Linked DNA regions of Homo sapiens: region 1 is linked to region 2. Evidence: promoter capture Hi-C in human tissues and cell types (Jung and others, 2019). All regions are on one chromosome and are shown on one strand. Each heading gives the region's core, a stretch centred on a gene start or on the middle of the fragment in contact. The rest is flanking DNA. Distances are from core to core; before and after follow the strand shown.

Region 1 (3,247 bases), core at 249-2,748, 1.1 Mb after region 2:
CAGACTCCAGAATTGAAAAATGGCTTAATGGGATTCTTCCCGTTTGCCTAGAAGTTAGAAGATGTGGAATCTTGTCCCACTTTGTCACTGACCATTCTTTTGAATTTGAGCAACACAATCAACATAAATGAGCCTTAGTTAATGTATTTATGAAATAAGAAATGGTTAGTTTCAATATATCTGAAGTCCTTTACATCAAGAAAAATATAAATTGTTCAATTGTATTTTTTTTTTTTTTTTTTTTGAGACGGAGTCTCGCTCTGTCGCCCAGGCTGCAGTGCAGTGGCACCATCTCGGCTCACTGCAAGCTCTGCCTCCCGGGTTCATGCCATTCTCCTGCCTCAGCCTCCCAAGTAGCTGGGACTACAGGCACCCGCCACCACTCCCAGCTAATTCTTTGTATTTTGTTTAGTAGGGACGGGGTTTCACCATGTTAGCCAGGATGGTCTTGATCTCCTGACCTCGTGATCCGCCCGCCTCGGCCTCCCAAAGTGCTGGGATTACAGGCATGAGCTACCGCGCCCGGCCATTTAATTGTATTTTAAAGCAAAATTATATTGTGTGCCTTACCCATTTCCCCTTCTCCAATGATCTCATTCTTGATCTGAAGCTTTTTGGAAAATTTCAGCCAGTAACTCTGAATTATTAATTATACTCCTGGCCTTTTCTAGACAAGGGAATATACAATAGCCTACAAATGTGGTAAACAAATTATTAGTCAACAGATATTTACTGAGAAACTACTAGAGACAAAGTACTATATAAAACTAATTAGTATTAGAGCCTCACTGGAACCAACTATGGGGCATAACTGGTAATATTATTAAACAGTGAAGCTCCCAGGTAATGGATTAGAGTAGAGATACATACCTTAAAGAGGCAGGAGACTCTCCATCTAAGCCTGGATAGTTCCCAGAGGGACAGTGTTAGCATACTTGAGAAAGAAATGCATTTGATAGAAACAGCATTGATCAGCCTTGGAAGCATAGAGATATAACCTTGAGAACCTGTCTAGCACAATTTAGATCCACTGGTACCCCTATTGAAGAGTCCTCAAGGATGAAAGAGATATAACTATCAGGCTAAATTGTAACTGGAATTTAGTTCTTCCAACTAATTCCACTTTCATGGTATCCATGCCCACTAAACTACCATCTGATTCTAATTTGACATCCCACATATCTGTCACTGTTAAGCATGGAAAATATGATTTCCCTCGAATAAAAATAATAGATTTTTCTGACTGGGATTAGCAGCTCTTGGTGCACTGATAAATCTGTATTCTGAGCTTCTTGAAGTGTTGGCAGGAAGAAGGGGCTGTCTATAATGAACTTCGTATAATAATGCCAGACTTTCCCAAGGAAACCACACATCATAACCGGGCTTCTTTCCCCTTAAGCTTCAACACATTTATTTATTCTTTATCTCTGTTCTCTCTTATTTCTTCTTATTCTTATCCTCTTCCCTCTCCTTCAATTTGCCTCAACAAAGATAATGAACTGACGTGGGCTTGGGTTTTAAAAATATTTGGGATTAGACAGATGTTAGAAGAAGGCATTTCAAAGAGAGGGGCAATTAAATTGGGTTGGGGGATTAAGGAGACCAGCCTCAGGCAGTTTAAGGAGTGATGCTAAGTGAGGTGAGACTAGAAGCTTAAGTCATGTCCAGATCATAAAGATTTCCAAATGGCATTAAGGAATCTGGCCCCAGGCAGTTGACTGAGAGTTTTTAGGATTTCTCAAAAAATAAAGACATAGACCAAAGTTGAATTTTAGGAAGATTATGTATATTAAATACAATCATACATGAAGGAGTATGTGTGTAGTATTAACTATAAACTATACTTAACACAAAAGTACATAGGTCAGTACTTTCAACTTCAATCAAAGAGATTACACATTCCTCTTTAGTGAATGGAGGTAAGGAACTTGTAGAAAATGACTAATGTTTACTCACAAGGAGACAACTGGAAGGAGCTGGAGGGATGTGGGTATGTACATGAGTAATGGAAGGAGGAAAGAAAAGAAAGAATAGAGATTTCTATAATTCATCCAGTACCTTTCCTCAGGGGTAGAGTTTGGCTTTCAAATGACCAGCAAGTCAACATTGGCAGCAGCTCAGCCACCAGAGCAATATCCAGGAAGCTACTGGAATCACAGAGGATTTTGAAACACATGTGTCTGGATTTCAGTGTTATTCCTGAATAAGTCTGTAGTCTTCCCTCAACACCTCCTTCTGTGAGAAATGGAAACTCGGGCAACACAAGGCAAGGAGGGACAACTGGACACACCAGCTGAATCATAACATCTGGTGAAGACTTCTCTGCTATCACAGAATCTGAGAGATGGCTAATACTCAGACCAGCTCCCAAGAGTAGCTTTTCCTGCAGGAGGGTGCAACAGCCTCAGGATTTCAGCTCAGGGGGAAATATGTCTGTATGAGTAGGAGAGAAATGGAGTTGTGTGTAAGCATATGTTTGTGGTTTTCGAAGCAGAGGACAAACACAAAATCACATAGCCTCCTGGTCTGATGGGTTTCCCTGACTTGGATGTTTCAGTGATGCAGTTTGGCCCTAGAGCCTTCATCTGAGCTAAGGTTCCCTCCCTCCCTTTTTGCTTCAGCTCAGTGTTTTGCTTGAATCTGAGTCATAAGCTCCTTAAGCTGGCAGGAAGCGGATAGTCGGGCTGGCAGCTTGCTCTCCCCCAAGCAGAGGGAGTGTCTTGGCTGACACCTAAGCAACCTTTTCCATCCCCAGACTCTGTAACAGAACCAATGAGCATTAGAAGAATGGAAGGCTGGGCTATACTCACAGAGTAGAAGAGAAAAACCATCCTATAGAAATCCAATAGCTCAAGCCATGGTTTTAAAAAAAATGGCTTATGGAATTTCCTCAGCCACTCATGATGTCCTTACAATATTTTGTGTTTATCCCTCAAAGCTTGTCTATGTACACTCTCAACCTAGCTCCCACCCCAGCTCTACAGGTCTTTATTCTCCATCCAGTTTCTGAATGATTTTCCCCTCTAGCAAACTCCATCCTTCCCTCTACTTCTCCTAAACCACAGCCACTCTAACAGCTAAGTTCATACTCTGAAAGCTTGCCCTGTAGGGACTTAGAGCAGAATACTACCAAGTATGACATCTTGGCATGCTGAGTACTTTGAAATGGAGGAGATAGGAAAGGCCTCTGCAACAAGGTATCTCCAACCTTTTCCCTCTTTCTTCTGTCTTCTAAGACATGTCATAG
Region 2 (2,989 bases), core at 308-2,807:
ATGACTCTGAGTGACAATCAACTTCTATAGCACCTTTTTTTTTTTTTTCAGGAAATAAAGTAGCATGTTCCTGAATAATTCCCCCACCCCCTTTTATTTTCCTGGTAGTCAGGCTTCCTCCAAAATACCTTATTTGACCTTTATACCTTTAGAAACAGCAAGTGCCTAATTCGCCTCTGTGGGTTGCTAATCCGATTTACGTGAGCGGAACCTAGTATTATTTTAGCTCCCCTACCGAAAAAATAATACACATGGATAATAGTTCTATTACCAGCTCCTGCTTCTGACTTTTTTCTCTCTGTTTCGCAGGCCCGATAGCTCTGGGAAAGCAGAACTTGGCCTTTTCCAAAAATTTTCTGCCCTTGGTTTTGGGGATCATTTGGGCAAGCCCGAGGTGCTGTGCATGGGGGCTCCTGGAATCCTGGGAAGGGCAGAAAGCCTTGGCCCCAGACTCATCGTGCAGCAGCTCTGAGCAGTATTTCGGCTGAGGAGTGACTTCAGTGAATATTCAGCTGAGGAGTGACTTGGCCACGTGTCACAGCCCTACTTCTTGGGGGCCTGGTGGAAGAGGGTGGCGTAGAAGGTTCCAAGGTCCCAAACTGGAATTGTCCTGTATGCTTGGTTCACACAGTGCGTTATTTTACCTTCCTCTGAGCTGCTAATCGCCTGCCTCTGAGCTGGGTGAGATAAATATCACAAGGCACAAAGTGATTGTACAATAAAAAAATCAAATCCCTCCCATCCATCCTTCAGTCTGCCACACACGCAGTCTACGTTACACACATGTCACGTAAAGCAGGATGACATCCATGTCACATACATAGACATATTAACCGAAATGTGGCCCTTCGGTTGCATATATTCTCATACATGAATATATTTATAGAAATATATGCACATATTTTTGTATATTGGATATATTTATGTAACTATAAATTTACATGCGTATGGATATGAAAATAAATGCATACACATTTATGTAAAAAAATTTGTACACATGCATTTACATATGTAAATACATACATCTCTATGTATTAATGTTTAAAAACACTCAATTTCCAGCCTGCTGTTTTCTTTTAATTTTCCTCCTATTCCGGGGAAACAGAAGCGTGGATCCCACGTCTATGCTATGCCAAAATACGCTGTAATTGAGGTGTTTTGTTTTGTTTTGTTTTTTGAAATCGTATATTACCGAAAAACTTCAAACTGAAAGTTGAATAACGGGCCCAGCGGGGAAATAAGAGGCCAGACCCTGACCCTGCATTTGTCCTGGATTTCGCCTCCAGAGTCCCCGCGAGGGTCCGGCGCGCCAGCTGATCTCTCCTTTGAGAGCAGGGAGTGGAGGCGCGAGCGCCCCCCTTGGCGGCCGCGCGCCCCCGCCCTCCGCCCCACCCCGCCGCGGCTGCCCGGGCGCGCCGTCCACACCCCTGCGCGCAGCTCCCGCCCGCTCGGGGATCCCCGGCGAGCCGCGCCGCGAAGGGGGAGGTGTTCGGCCGCGGCCGGGAGGGAGCCGGCAGGCGGCGTCCCCTTTAAAAGCCGCGAGCGCCGCGCCACGGCGCCGCCGCCGCCGTCGCCGCCGCCGGAGTCCTCGCCCCGCCGCGCTGCGCCCGGCTCGCGCTGCGCTAGTCGCTCCGCTTCCCACACCCCGCCGGGGACTGGCAGCCGCCGCCGCACATCTGCCGCCACAGCCTCCGCCGGCTACCCGAACGTTCTCGGGGCCAGCGCCGAGTGGATCACCGGGGACCGCGAGGCACCCGCGCGCCGCAGACCCCGCGCGGGCTGGAGCACCCGGCAGAGCGCGCCACAGCGCCGTGGCCTCTGCTGCCCGGGCTGCGCCAGAGCCGCGGACGGGCGCGCAGAGCGCCGGGGACTCCGGAGCCGATCCCTAGCGCCGCGATGCGGAGCACCTACTGCAGGAGATCGGGGGCCTGGGACGCGCTGGCCGAGGTGTGATCGGACCCCAGGCTAGCCACAAAGGGCACTTGGCCCCAGGGCTAGGAGAGCGAGGGGAGAGCACAGCCACCCGCCTCGGCGGCCCGGGACTCGGCTCGACTCGCCGGAGAATGCGCCCGAGGACGACGGGGCGCCAGAGCCGCGGTGCTTTCAACTGGCGAGCGCGAATGGGGGTGCACTGGAGTAAGGCAGAGTGATGCGGGGGGGCAACTCGCCTGGCACCGAGATCGCCGCCGTGCCCTTCCCTGGACCCGGCGTCGCCCAGGATGGCTGCCCCGAGCCATGGGCCGCGGCGGAGCTAGCGCGGAGCGCCCGACCCTCGACCCCCGAGTCCCGGAGCCGGCCCCGCGCGGGGCCACGCGTCCCTCGGGCGCTGGTTCCTAAGGAGGACGACAGCACCAGCTTCTCCTTTCTCCCTTCCCTTCCCTGCCCCGCACTCCTCCCCCTGCTCGCTGTTGTTGTGTGTCAGCACTTGGCTGGGGACTTCTTGAACTTGCAGGGAGAATAACTTGCGCACCCCACTTTGCGCCGGTGCCTTTGCCCCAGCGGAGCCTGCTTCGCCATCTCCGAGCCCCACCGCCCCTCCACTCCTCGGCCTTGCCCGACACTGAGACGCTGTTCCCAGCGTGAAAAGAGAGACTGCGCGGCCGGCACCCGGGAGAAGGAGGAGGCAAAGAAAAGGAACGGACATTCGGTCCTTGCGCCAGGTCCTTTGACCAGAGTTTTTCCATGTGGACGCTCTTTCAATGGACGTGTCCCCGCGTGCTTCTTAGACGGACTGCGGTCTCCTAAAGGTAGAGGACGCGGGCCAGGGCCCGGGGTGGGTGGTGGGTGGGAGGGGGATTTGGGCAGCCACTGCGGTAGAGCCCTTCCTTACGTCCAGGCCAGAAGTAAACAGACCCCTCTCCAGTCCACGTGCAACGGAGCCCTGCAGGGGCTCCCACTTCCAGCTGCCCCGGGCGACCGTAAGCCTCACCCTCCCGGCCCGCACTCTTCCACCCCTCTTTCTTCCCCTCTCCCTGGAATACTTTTGGAG

The links. The method cuts DNA at HindIII sites, captures the fragments that hold promoters and counts their contacts. A contact is called where the count stands out against the background at its distance.
Region 1: a contact is called between a fragment that was not itself captured here and the fragment with the promoter of BMP2 in region 2, in 1 of the 25 tissues and cell types used here (dorsolateral prefrontal cortex).

Annotation. Positions count from the first base shown.
Region 1 is chr20:7,839,446-7,842,692 of GRCh38, forward strand. No RefSeq gene overlaps it. Among named protein-coding and RNA genes, the nearest start is that of HAO1, 99 kb to the right of the region's middle. The HindIII fragment of the contact is 3,038 bases long and covers 1-3,017 here.
Region 2 is chr20:6,766,129-6,769,117 of GRCh38, forward strand. It overlaps BMP2 (bone morphogenetic protein 2), which reads left to right and starts at 1,558. Exons shown (of 3, transcript NM_001200.4): 1 at 1,558-2,747. LOC105372517 (a long non-coding RNA gene) reads right to left here and starts at 1,356. Exons shown (of 4, transcript XR_937229.2): 1 at 1,193-1,356; 2 at 272-677. RefSeq lists promoters at 1-2,612, 1,422-2,063, 1,453-2,612, cis regulatory regions at 526-1,316, 1,323-1,422, 2,063-2,237 and silencers at 1,502-1,551, 1,642-1,691. The HindIII fragment of the contact is 20,905 bases long and covers 1-2,989 here.